Regions from separate parts of the Homo sapiens genome. Here region 1 is linked to region 2. Evidence: promoter capture Hi-C in 16 types of primary human blood cells and fetal thymus (Javierre and others, 2016). All regions are on one chromosome and are shown on one strand. Each heading gives the region's core, a stretch centred on a gene start or on the middle of the fragment in contact. The rest is flanking DNA. Distances are from core to core; before and after follow the strand shown.

Region 1 (6,826 bases), core at 308-2,807, 110 kb before region 2:
TATAAAGCAGACTCACTTTTATTTTGTTTTTGGCATTTTATAACCATCACTTGATAATTAGAAATCGTGGGACCTCAAAAACCACTCAGCATGAAGTTTGGGAATTGCCTATATAGCTACATTTTATGTTTTTAATGTATAGAGTATAAAAGGTTCACTGCCTGACTTTTCTCTTTTCCATGAACTGTACAAGTACAGAGCTTAATTTTTATAAACAGCCCTCTCTGGACCAGTTACTGTGCTAGGAATCCAGCTTTTAGCTGTGTAATCGTAGAGAGGAAAAACTGAAGGGCAAAATGAAGACAAAATTGATTCAGTTCATGTAAGGGCCCCTTCTTGAATCTGTCACTGAACTAGGATCAGAAATCTGGTTTGCTGTCTCCTGGCCATCAATCCTCCCATTTTGCGTTTTTTATATGCTACTTTACTGAACATAGAGCCTTCCAATTTTACCTTCTTATCCCTAAATCATTTCAGATATGCAGGGAGAGGTCCGCTCCAGCTTCACTATAGACCATGGAAATTCCATGATGACATCTTAGGACAGCAGGTGTCTAGATGTCTCTGTTGTAACATTTTACTATGGTCAGTTAACCTGCTGGCAGAATCTTTAGCTATACTGTGAGACAAGGTTATGCAAAGTTATACAAGGTTATCGGTTACCATGTAATAAATAAAGAGCTTAATGGCTTAAAACAGTAATTGTTGATTTGGCTTACAAATCTGCAATTTGGGAAGGGCTCAGTGAAGAAAGCTTGTTTTTGCCGCGTATGGTCACAGCTGAGGCTGGTCACAGCTGAGGCGGCTAACTGGGGCTGGAGGGTTCTTGAAGATGGCTCACATGACTGAAGTTGTTACTAGCTTTTGCCTGGGAGCTTGGTTAGGAACCTCAGCTCCTCTTCTTGTAGGCCTCTCCATGGGGCTGCTTGAGCTTCCTTACAGCATGGAAGCTGGGTTCTAAGAGCACATGTTCCAAAAGACAGGACATTGAAGCCACCAGTCCATTAAGGACTGGGCTTGCAAGTTGGTGTATCATAATTTCTGTCATATGCTGTTGGGCAAGTACAGAGCCCTCTCAGATTCAAGGGCGGGAGACTAGACCCTGCTCCTTGATGGGAAATGTGTTAAGAGTCTGTGGCTATCTTTTAGTTACCATGCCCGTTTATTGTTGAGTCAGTGACGCTCTTCAGCGTTTTTATTTGGGGGTCAATAAAGATCCTCTGGCAGAATGGCAAATGGATGCTGCCTTCTAGCCACAATTTTTTAAAGACCTAGAATAAAGGTAGTCATGATCATCTTTTTGAGTAGAAGCAGGACTAGCTTTAGGGGAAAAGTTGCCATGGTGATGATATTCTCTGTCCTCCCCTGGACTGCTAGTCATATGAGAACTGAGGTTCCTGAGTAAAAACAGGCCAAAGAATCTAATCTTGTGGGATAAACGTCATAAGACCAGGAGTTGGCAAAGTTTTTCTGCAAAGGGCCAAATCGTAAATATTTTAGGCAGTGCTAGCACATGTAGTCTCTGTTGCTGCGGTATCTTACAGTTCTGTAAGTTACGGTAATGTCTGTCACAGGTTAGCAGGGCTGTATTCTCTTCTGAGGCTCTAGGGGAGAATCTGTTCCCGTGCCTTTTCCGGTTTCCAGAGGCAGCCCACATTCCTTCACTATTGGCCTCTTCACCTTCAATGTCAGCAACAAAATGTTGCTCTGACCCTGCTTCTGCTGTCTCCCTCTTGCATTTTTAAGGGCCCCATGATTACAATGGGCCAATTTAAATAATCCAGGATAATTTCCCCATGTTAAGGTCAGCTGATGAGCAACCTGAATGCTATCTGCAAATTTACTTCCCCTTTGCCATATAAACTCACATATTCAAAGGATTAGGATGTAGACATCTTTAGGGGGCCATTATTCTGCCTACCACGCCATTCTTAACTCACAGGCCATAGAAAAACAGCCTATGTGCTGTGTTTTGTCAACCTCTCAGCTATATAATACTGTACTTGATTTCTGCTGTAGTTCATTTTGTGCTGCTATAACAGAATACCAGAGACTGGCTAATTTATAAACAATAGAAATTTGTTTCTCACAGGTCTGGAGGCTGGGAAGTCCAATACTGAGGGGCTGGCATCTGGCAAGGGCTTTCTTGCTGCATCATCCCATGGCAGAAGGGTGGAAGGGCAAGAGAGCATATTTGAGAGAGAGCAATAGAGGGCCAAATTTGCTAATATAATAAACCCATTCTCAAGATAATGAGCACACTCTAGCAATGATGACGTTAATCCGTTTGTGAGGACAGAGCCCTTATGACCTAATCACCTCTTAAAGGTCTCACCTGTCAATACTCCTATACTGGGGATTAAGCTTTCAACACATGAACTTTAGGGAACACATTTAAACCATAGCAATTTCCAAATTAAGTTTATGTCATAGTTGATGTAGTGTTCACAAAGCAGTTAGATTTAGCTCCTTAGATCTTCAAATAGGAGGGAGCACATAGAACTCTTTCTATCCCCCTCATCCTGTGAGGTTGGCATATTTTCATCCATAGTAGAAGGCGTGCAAGAAGATGTGTGAATGTTATCAAAACTAATTTTCACAACATGTCAACTTGAAAAACTTTATTTTTATTTTCCTTTTCTTTAAAATTTTTTTTAGAGACGGGGTCTTGCTATGTTGCCCAGGCTGGACTAGAACTCCTGGGCTCAAACAATCCCCTTGCCTCAGTCTCCCAAGTAGCTGGGACTGTGGGCATGAGCCACCATGCCCAGCCTGTTTTTAAATTTTCATTAGGTATAATTGGCTCTTTTTTTTTTTTTTTTTTTTTTTTGAGACAGAGTTTCACTTTTGTTGCCCAGGCTGGAGTGCAATGGTGCGATCCCAGCTCACTGCAAGCTCCGCCTCCCGGGTTCAAGTGATTCTCCTGCCTCAGCCTCCCGAGTAGCTGGGATTACAGGCATGCACCACCACACCTGGCTAATTTTGTATTTTTTAGTAGAGATGGGGTTTCTCCATGTTAGGCTGGTCTAGAACTCCAGACCTCAGGTGATCAGCCCACCTTGGCCTCTCAAAGTGCTGGGATTACAGGCGTGAGCCACCGCGCCCAGCCTTAATTGGCTCTTTTAAGAAAACAATTTCATTGAGTATCTGATAGCAGGAGAAGAGAGAAGGATAATTATTCATGTTCCTTATTTGTAATTTTAAAATATTTCATTTTGGGATGAATAAATTTACAGACAATTCTGCCATAATGTGACATATGTATTCCTAAAAATTACCACGCTATGCAAAATCAGGCAATCCAAAACCACAGGGCTTATGAGAAAAATGGGGTTAGGGACATAACATTCAAAAACTTCCTCAGTGACCCATTAAAAAATCATAGGAATGTTATATAGATTGAGCATCCCTTATCAGAAATGCCTGGGACAACAAGTATTTCAGATTTTTTTTTTTTTTTTTTTTTTTTTTGCATTTTGGAATATTTCTATTGTACTTACTGGTTGGACATTCCAAATCTCCAAAAATCCAAAATCCACAATGCTCCAATGACCATTTCCTTTGAGCATGATGTCGACACTCAGAAAGTTTCGGATTTCAGAATTTCGGATTAGGGTTCCTATCAAAATGGTAAAACACTGACATGTATTACATGCTCAAAAAATACTGGCTGGGTGCAATGGCTCACGTCTGTAATCCCAGCACTTTGGGAGGCTGAGGTGGGCGGATCACTTGAGGTCAGGAGTTCAAAACCAGCCTGGCCAACATGGCAAAACCTCCCTCCACTAAAAATACAACAAATTAGCCAGGCGTGGTGGTGCATGCCTGTAATCCGAGCTACTCGGGAGGCTGAGGCAGGATAATCACTTGAACCTGGGTGGCAGAGGTCGGAGTGAGCTGAGATGTCACCACTGCCCTCCAGCCTGGGCAACAGAGTGAGACTCTGTCTTTAAAAAAAAAAAAAAAATTACATAAATATTATGACAGAGATGGAACTTTCCATTGAAAAATGCCTGAGGTTTAGGGTTCTCTGAAATGACATGAAAAGTTGTGACACCAAATGTGAATGAGTGTGGCTCATTGTCCTCGAGGTGTGTACATGTGTATGTTTGTGTATTTCTAAGTGGCTCCATTCAGCTGGGTACACTGCAGTTTTCTGCAGTCTCGGGATAAGAGGTTGTGCATAAGAAAACATGAAATTCATGCTATGCTCAAATTGTTCCAAATAATATCAATCATTGGAACAAATTTGCCTTTTCAAAACATAGCAGAGCTGACCATCTTCTTGGTTTGGACGCAGAGCTCTGGGAAGGACATGCCTGAGCACACAGCACTATTTTCTGTTTCTTCCCACCAAAGGAATATGCCAGGGATGAGCTGGCTCTCCCTCTCATGTTGGACATCCAGAATTCTGTACCTGGAAATACAGAAACTTCCAGACATGCAATTTTCAAAAACTTAGCTGCTATTTACTCTTTCTCCAGAAGCTACGCAAGGATGCCAACCAGCAAAACAAGGAAGTATACCAAGAAAGAGGATACAGAAAATGGCAAATGGAGTGCAGGAGAGGGGGCAGGGAATCCCCGGATGGCAGCTGTGCACAGGCAGAGAGATAACCCAGGCCTGCCACCCCTGGGAGGGATGCCTGCAAGACGATGAAATGCAGATGGGACTTGAGGCCTCTGATCTTGGGAGATTTTGATTGTTAGTGAAGGGTTTAGGGTGGAATCTGGATTCAGGATTCAGAAAACTTAGCAGATAAAAAGGTAAGAGAATGACCTCCAGGGAAAATAAAAAGAAAAGATGTGCATAAAAAGAAAATACAAGCATTCGTTTAAGTTAATTGCATGGCAGAGCTCTGAGCAGCATTTGCGCAGTTAAAAACGTACAGTCAATCTTTAATGTGAATATTGATCTATATTGGGATGATGGCGAGATGGGAAGTTTACATTGCAAGTGATGGAACTGAATGGAAATGGAGTTCAGTCCTCATCTTCCATAGTGAGAAGTCAATACACTTTGCCTAAAATGAAAAATCAAGACACAGCAATACACACATAGTAGCTAGACTTGAAGGAAAGTATCCAAAAACCCTATCAAGAGTTGAAATTGGTGGCCTCTGGGCACTTTCTCTGTTATACGTCTTACAGAATGGTTTGAATTTTTTAAGCAATATGACTGTATAACTTTAATAAAAAACTAAAACTAAATGTAGTATTTTGCAGAAAAGAGTTAACATTAGCAGGCCTGAGACTTAGGCCTGTTCGCAAGGTTGGCCCTTGGCTGGCCTCTGGGAGCTTACATTTTGCAAGGGTACCCACCATTTCCCAGTAAGGATGGCTCACTGCATAAACTCTTAAACAATTGATAAACAATGTGGTTCATGCTGAATGCCTGTGAGTCTGACATTTTGGTACGTGCTAGGCAGAGGGTGCTTATATGACCAGCCCACAATACAAACCCTGGGACTTGAGTCTCTAAGCAGCTTCCCTGGTAGAGAGCCCTTCACACGTGTTGTCACAGCTCACTACTGGGGCATTAAGCTCTACCTCTGACTCCCCTCAGGGAGGAGTCTTGGAAGCTTGCACCCTGTTTCCCCCAACTTCACCCCATGCACCTTTTTCCCTTTGCTGAGTTTGCTCTGTGTCCTTTCTCTGCAATAAATTACAGCCATGAGTGCAACTATTAGGCTGAGTCCTATAAGTCATCCTGGTGATCATCAAACCTAGGGGTGGTCTCAGGGACGCCCAAGATGCAAATATGCTTCGATATTAACCGATGGCAGTTTTCTTTTCCTAGCGTGGAGATTGGTGAAAGCGTGAGAGGGGAAGATGTCTACATCATCCAGAGCGGCTGCGGGGAAATTAACGACAACCTGATGGAACTCCTCATCATGATCAATGCCTGCAAGATTGCGTCATCATCCAGAGTAACTGCCGTGATCCCGTGTTTCCCATACGCCCGACAAGATAAAAAGGACAAGGTAGGAGAGGTGTGTGCCCTAGAAACCTGCTGTGGGCCACTGTCAATGTTGTTTTTCCTCATTTATCCCCTTGATTAGAATTATCTGGAAAATGTTGGCTTTTTCCTTTGATGATCAAGTAAATATGCTTTCTTATTTTGTTTGTTGAAGATTTGGCTTTGAACCTACCCTGACATTAATATTCAAAGAAACAGGTAATGCATATTTTTGCAGGTATTAAAATACCATTATTGTCCTTGTTATAATGAAATTATTGTATGTCTTTGTGGTGGTGGATAGAACTAAATACACACACATACATGCACAAGAGTACAAGTCAAACTAGAGCACATCTGAATCAGATCACTGGATTGTATCAATTTCAGGGTCCTGGCTGTGATACTGTGTTATAGTTTCACAAGACGTTACCACAGGGAACTAGGTAAAAGGTTCACAGGATCTCTGCGTTGTTTCATACAACTGCATGTCTATCTACAATTCCCCCGAAATAAAAAGTTTAATTAAAAAAAAAACCCATGATCTCTTTTTAACCTTTTAAAAAGAACAGAAATAGTATCATTGAATTATGTTTTTCACAACATTAGCATCAGAGGAGGCTCTGTGAGTCTTTAGAAAAAAATTGAAGAAAATGTGGTTGGTCTTTGCCTTTCAGAGCAACAGAGAAATCGGAGGTTGAGAAGAACTTTGAAGGAGATTGTATTAGTTTTCTAAGCTGTCATAAGAAATTACATAAACCGCGTGGCTTAAAAGAGCAGAAATTTTTCCCTCACAGTTTCGGAGGCCCAGAAGTGTGAAATCAAGGAATGGGCAGGGGCACGCTCCCTCTGAAGGCTGTAAGGGAGG
Region 2 (7,095 bases), core at 1,114-3,613:
TGGAATCAAGATCTGTGTCAGCATGGATGGCAAGGGGAAGAGTAAGGAAAGATTGGTCTAGGAGATGCCCAGGAGCTTTTGGCCTCACAGTGCAGGGTGGGGAGAGCAGACCTGGCCACCAAGGACCAGTTTCTGGGCTTGGGCAGAAGCCAATCATCTGGCTACTTTACAAGCAGATGGAGCTTCTTCCTCTCAGTAACCTTCCTGCCCTGGTGTCAATTCCATTTTCATTTTCATCTTTTATGGTACTGGTTGTGTGGAGAAAACTGAAGGCTCATTTGGTATAAGTAAGTAACTCATTTTTATGAGTTTGCTTGACATAGATACTAGACTGTATGTGTGTATATATACATATAAACATGCATATGTACATAAAAAATATATATATATCATATATACATGATGATACACACACACACACACACACACACACACACACATATATATATATACGTATACAAGCATGCTTTACAAGGCCAATTGACTGGTCTACAATTGGCTGACACTTGGTGGCCTAGAAGCCAGGGTATGTGAGTCTCGCTTTTCTAGAAAGCTGACAAACTCTCCAGTTCCAAGGATCCTTGCTCAGTCAACGGCTGGAAGTCATTTTTACTTCGCTGTTTTTTGTTTGTTTGTTTGTTTGTTTTTTTAGACAAAGTCTCATTCTGTCACCCAGGCTAGAGTGCAGTGGCACTATCATGGCTCACTGCAATCTCCACCTCCTGGGCTCAAGCGATCCTCCCACCTCAGCCACCCGAGTAACTGGGACTACAGGTGCACACCACCATGCCTGGCTAATTTTTGTATTTTTTTAGAGACAAGGTTTTGCCATGTTGCCCGGGTTGGTCTCAAACCCCTGAGCACAAGTGATCCTCCTGCCTCGGCCTCTACAAAGTGCTGGAATTACAGGTGTGAGCCACTGCACTCGATCCATTCTTACTTACTTTCTTTACTTTATTTCCAAGCAAATGTTTGGAGGGAAACCAAGAGACTTGGATGCGGCCAGCCGAGGCCTTTGGGTTTACAATCACAAATGTTTTTGGTTTGCCCATGAAGGCCCAGGCTGCACTCTCTGATGTCACAGGAATCACCTCTCAAACCATGCACCAGGTCTTGAATTCCCTTAGGGTGTGATCTTTAGAGGTCCATCTAGGTATACCCACCCAAGCCATTCTTTGACTGCTGACAGGCCTTCCTTCATAACAAGGTGTTCCACAGTCCATTTATATATGGATGTCATCTCTGCCCACCCTGCTGCCAATTTGGTTTTCTCCCACTCCTGGGGTGTAAGGCAAGATGAAACATATCACATCCCGTTCTAAACTTTATTCTTGTGGCCAGGGGTCAGCAAACTTTTTCTGTAAAGGGCCAGATGGCAAATATCTTAGGTTTTACAGGCCAAGAAGCAAATTTGGCATATTATGTAGCTACTTATATAGTAAAATAAAAATTTCCACAATTATGTAATTGATGAAACTCAAAATGTAATAATAATAATCGAAGGCAGTTTTTTTGTAGTATAGGTTTAATAATGAGAAGAATGGAATCATTTTTGGAGGTGCTAACATTCTGCTTGGTTGGAATTTAAAGTTAGTGTTCTGTATCAGCAAATCCATTGCCAATGTTCATCTAAAAATGTTTTCACTTCTGGGCCGGATTTCGTTCAAAGGCTGCAGTTTGCTGACCTCTGCTCTTGGTTACACCTTTTGAGGCCCTTGCTCTCCGAGCATAAAATGGAATCCATTTATCAGACTAAATCGGGAAGATTAAATTTTCCAGCCTCACGAATGCTCAGCCATTGACTCACTCGTTCATACAATGAACACTCATTGAGCTTATACTACATGCCAGGTGCTGGAGGAGGCATGGGGCGCCCAGGAGAAAGATGCTCGCTTTGCGGCCACAGCCCAGTGGGAGGGAGACCCATACCTACCGGTGCTGTCTCAGAAACTTGTGGAACAAAGATGAAGCAATGTTCATGTTATTCGCCTACATCTGTGAATTACACAAGGAAGACGAGTTTGAGAAATCCGAAGTTCAGTACAAATTTATGGTAACTTTTTTAAAAAAGAATACACTGAAGTTTTCTTAGTGAATGGAATAATGTTCCCTTTTTCTCCCCTGTACACACAAATACACAAAAACTAACAAAAATACGTCGTGTGTGTCTGATTTGGGTTGTATTTAAATCATTTCATAAATGACTTTTTCCCATAACTTCAGTTTCAAAGTTTTAAAGCACAGTCAATTAATGATTTGGCAACAGCTAAGAAATCACAAGTTCCCTTCTTTTCATGTAAACTTCTGTAAAACACACGCTACGTTCTGCTGATGGTAAATAGAGCCATTTCAGGAAGTTAGCCAGTTTCTCTTCTCGGCCACCTCCTGCATAGAGGGTACCATTCTGCGCTGCTGCAAGTTACGGAATGAAAAATTAGAACAACAGAAACATGGTAAGCCACTTCTATTTCTTTAGCAAAGCTTTCCAACAGAATATGGGGTTTCTGACCCAGAAATCTGGGTTGGTGGCAAATGGTGTGAGCCTAGAAAGTAATAAATGGGCAAATAAGGATAAAAATTAAAGATCGAAACAACTGTAAATGCAGGTAAAGCGGCTTGCTATGATCTTTAATTTGTGCACACGTTAGTATAAAGGAATTAGAGAGTAAATTTTGAAAATCAAATGCAGTGATGATCTTACTAATTTGGACAGGAAAATAAGAAAATTTCAAGTTAGAAATTGAACTGGAAATATTACTTACTGGCCCTACCAGAGACAATATCCTCTTCCAGAACAACAGGGTTGGAAGAGAAGGTGAGGGAAATATTCTTCCTTTGCTATTTCTGTAGAAAAGGACAAACTCTCTTCCTTCACATACATAGGTCAATTGCTAGATCCTAGTGAAGCCTGAGCTTAACCTACTGTTGGAGGCTTAAAGTTCGACATTAATTGCTACTTTTCTTGGTCAGAGTTTTAAATAATTAGGTTGGTACAAAAAACTGTGATTACTTTTCCACCAACCTAATAACATGCTACAATTTCTGTAATTATTATTTTACACTGTCAAGACATAGCAGGTGGTCCGTTTTTGTTATTGTCAAGAACTGTCAGACTAAAAATGAACTTTACACTTCTTTTTAAATGATACATTTTCTAGAAAATTCAATGAGGTTTAAGAGCAATTGAAAAGTCTGATTTCAAGAGAGTCTCATCCAAAATGTACTATATATTTTTCCCCAAAGTCCTTGGAGTTAATTTTGACAACAATTTAAAGTACACTTAAGTCTTTTGAAGTTAATGGGTCTGCCACCCAGGTTGGAGTGCAGTGGCGTGATCTCAGCTCACTGCAACCTCCGCCTCCCGGGTTCAAGCGATTCTCCTGCCTCAACCTCCCAAGTAGCTGGGACTACAGGTGTGTGCCACCACGCCTGGCTAATTTTTGTATTTTTAGTAGAGACGGGGTTTCTCCATGTTGGCCAGGCTGGTCTCGAACTCCTGACCTCAGGTGATCCGCCTGTCTCAGCCTCCCAAAGTGCTGGGATTACAGGCATGAGCCACCGCGCCCGGCCTGAAGTTAATTTTTATACCCACCTAATGTTCATTATGGATCTTGAAGGTAAATTAATTCTGCACTAAAATTTTACAATGCTTTACAAAATGACTGTAGGTGGCCCATATGGAATTCGGTCAACTGGGCCAATGACACATATGGGATTGCAGTTGAAATTATCCAATTCCTACTTGATATTTGTAAGCTGCTGTGATAGCCAGTATAATTGTACTGTAAGAATGTGGTAAATAGCCGGGGCCCGGTGGCTCACGCCTATAATCCCAGCACTTTGGGAAGCCGACGTGGGCGGATCACTTGAGGTCAGTAGGTAGAGACCAGCCCGGTCAACACGGCAAAACCTCGTCTCTACTAAAAATACAAAAATTAGCCAGGTGTGGTGGTACGCACCTGTAGTCCCAGCTACTCAGGAGGCTGAGGCAGGAGAATCGCTTGAGCCCATGAGGTGGATGTTGCAGTGAGCAAAGATCGCACCATTGTACTCCAGCCTGGGCAACGGAGTAAGACTCTGTTTCAAAACAACAACAACAACAACAACAACAGATTGGTAAATAGAGTAATAATAAAATCAAATTAAACTTGCAAAAAATGGCCACTTTGCTCCCACTGGTGGCCAATGGAGGTCAAGGACCTGGCTGACCTCCTGCCTAAAGGCAGAGGTTGTTAGCCTTCGCAATGGACTCAAATCAGAGGGGGAGCTTTCAAAACTCCTGCTGCCCAGACTGAACCCCAGATCAATGAAACCAAAATCTCTGGATACAGGGCTTGGCATTTGTAGCTTTTAGAGTTCCTAAGTATCTCTACTGTGCAGCCAAAGTTAAGAATCAGTGCCTTAGAACATCAACAGTTTTTTGGTCCTTTTGTTAAAAAGCACAGTCCGTTTTTTTAGGTGGCTAGAAATGCTCCAGGAAGAGCTGAAATGTATTTACCAGCCACCTTGGTTTGATTTTAGAAAGCAAAATAGAAGTTCTAAGTATGCTTTCTCTGAAAAGCTGAGACTGCAGATAAGAGTGAGGGCAGTTGATGGAGTTCATTCTCCTCTTTCAATCACTGCTTCTCATCCTTTCATTATAATAATCTAAGAATCTCAGAGATTATGAAAGAGAAAGCAGTCTTATGGAAGACCCCAGACTCACAGAATATTAGGGTGTGTTTCACAGGGAAGGATGTCATTACCCACAGTTAGTCTTTGAAACGCAGTTGGACATTATTTGTAAGTGCATCATAGTGTCGCCTCCAGGTTCCATTGAGGGGAACGTCATTCCAATGCAACATCTCTGAGTTCATCTGGGTTATTAAATGGGGTTGAGGGATTTGTTATTTTTAAATTAGTAGCCCCAATTTAGGACTACTCAAGACCATAGGACAAGCCTGTCCAACCCTCGGCCTGCGGGCTGCATATGGCCGAGGACAGCTTTGAATGCAGCCCAAGACAAATTCATAAACTTTCTGAAAATATTATGCATTTGTTTTTTAGCCCATCAGCTACTGTTAGTGTTAGTGTATTTTATGTGTGGCCCAAGACAATTCTTCTTCTTCCAGTGTGGCCCAGAGAAGCTGAAAGATTGGACACCCCTGCTATAAGACACAGTAATATAAATACATAACCTGTGGTTCTGGATTGGCATTAGCAGATACAGGCTGTGTTGATTTTGCAGAAAGTTACAAAGAGCTGCTAGTTGGTGTGTATGTCTAAAATCAGTAGATTTCCTGTGGTTCTAAGGAATGACAAAGAATCTGGAAGTTCTCTGTGGTAGCCTGCTCAGTGCAGAAAGGGAACGTGGAAAATCCGCCACCAGCATTTGAGTCTTGGAGGTTCCACATAGGGCTATCAGGTCTCTGCTGATCACTGAAACCAGATCATGGCCAACTAGCCCCTTGGCTTCAGCCCTCCCAATTCATTAACTACTCAGGTAAATCTAGGGTCACTTTCAACTCTACCACCTACCATCTGAGTGACCTTGAAAACATTCATCTCTCTGAGCCTCAGGTCCCATGTCTGTAAAGCAGGGGCCTCATGGACTTCTTTGGGTTTTTTTGTTTTTGTTTTTGTTTCTGAGGATTAAACAAATGCTCCCTACCCTATTTCCCAGCATCCAGTAACACAGTTTTTCATATTTTTGTGTATGTTAAGTCAGGACCCATCTCTTTAATGATAAGTGCACTTAATGTGGTCATGTTTTCTTTTGTCTTCCAAAGCTGTTAGTGAATCCATTGAATTTGGGATGGGTAAAATAAAGTATCTATTATTAATTGTAAATTTCATCTAAAGTGACAAATCCTACCTGCATAACCATTTCTTAATTTCCTTTCATCATGTATCAGTGGTCAACATTGTTAACTGCGAATGAATCAGAATCCATCAAAAATTAGAACTATTTCCAGTCTGGCAAAAATTCAGCTCTGGTTGAATCCAAACATTGTGCTGAAGCAGCTAAGTAATTCAACTGAGGAGATTAATTACATGTTATAATCAATAGGTTCTCTTGACACTTCAGTGTTAGGGAACATCAGCAAGACCCATCCCAGGAGACCTTGAAGGAAGCCTTTGAAAGGGAGAATGAAGGAGTCATCTTTGCAAAATAGCTCCTGCAGCCTGGGAAAGGAGACTAAAAAGGTAAAAAGCTGTTAATTCCAGGAAGACAGCTTTACGCCCCTCCCAGACCACCTGCACTGCACACTACGTGGAATTTATTTTAGTCTCACATGGCAGCGTCCCTACCTTTGTGCCCACACATCTGGTCTCCGCCCTGGCTGCAGCCCTCCCCTTCAGGCGAATTCTGGGTGTGTCCTATCTGCTCATTGCAACTCCCAGCGAATGAGTTTTCAGCGAAGGCAGACTTTCTGACCTGTTCTTCAAACTGCACTGGTCTTTTAAAAACGTGTTTGGTGGCCATCAGCATCCAATTTCAGAAGAAAGATTTGGGTGAGGACTGAGAGAGGCTGTTGTTGTTGTGCTGTCTGTTTCCTTCAGAATCTGCAGAAGAAAATTGGCAGGTCATGTACTGTGGACCTAACCAAAGGACAAATGATGTATGGAAAATAGAAAAACTGTTGTGAAATTGCTTCCTCATTAGCAATAACTGTATTTGGCAGGGAGAGGAGAAGTTGGGCACATTTTTTTTTCTTTTTTTTTTCATGATTCATACGTTTTCTTTAAAGAAGTGGGTTTTGCTTTTCACTGGGTGCTCTAAGACAACCCCAGTGAAAGATCTGGACCACGAAGACCCAGTCATCCTCATAAGGGTGTTCATTGCAGCAAGCTCAAGGGCATGCCAGGCAAAGGCCTTTTTTCTGGCAGCTTGAACTTGTCTCAGCAGAGGGTTTCACAGAACAACTGTCATTTACCTGTTCTCTGCTCTTACTTGATTCGTTTCCCAGGACTGCTGAAACAAAGTACCACAAACTTGGTGGATCAAAACAGCAGAAATATATCCTCTCACAGTTCTGGAAACCACAAGTCAGAAACCAATGTGTTGTTGGCAGGGTTGGTTCCTTCTTAAGGGGCTAGAGGGAAAATCTGTTT

Evidence for each region. The method cuts DNA at HindIII sites, captures the fragments that hold promoters and counts their contacts. A CHiCAGO score of 5 or more calls a contact.
Region 1: a contact is called between a fragment that was not itself captured here and the fragment with the promoter of TLR8 in region 2, in 1 of 17 cell types (monocytes). The highest score is 5.1, in monocytes.

What each region holds. Positions count from the first base shown.
Region 1 is chrX:12,793,408-12,800,233 of GRCh38, forward strand. PRPS2 (phosphoribosyl pyrophosphate synthetase 2) reads left to right here. Exons shown (of 7, transcript NM_002765.5): 2 at 5,800-5,983. Among named protein-coding and RNA genes, the nearest start is that of PRPS2, 5.4 kb to the left of the region's middle. The HindIII fragment of the contact is 1,610 bases long and covers 753-2,362 here.
Region 2 is chrX:12,904,257-12,911,351 of GRCh38, forward strand. It overlaps TLR8 (toll like receptor 8), which reads left to right and starts at 2,364. Exons shown (of 2, transcript NM_138636.5): 1 at 2,364-2,453. The coding sequence starts at 2,451. TLR8-AS1 (TLR8 antisense RNA 1) reads right to left here. Exons shown (of 5, transcript NR_030727.1): 3 at 3,960-4,077; 4 at 1,934-1,995. The HindIII fragment of the contact is 3,594 bases long and covers 1-2,479 here.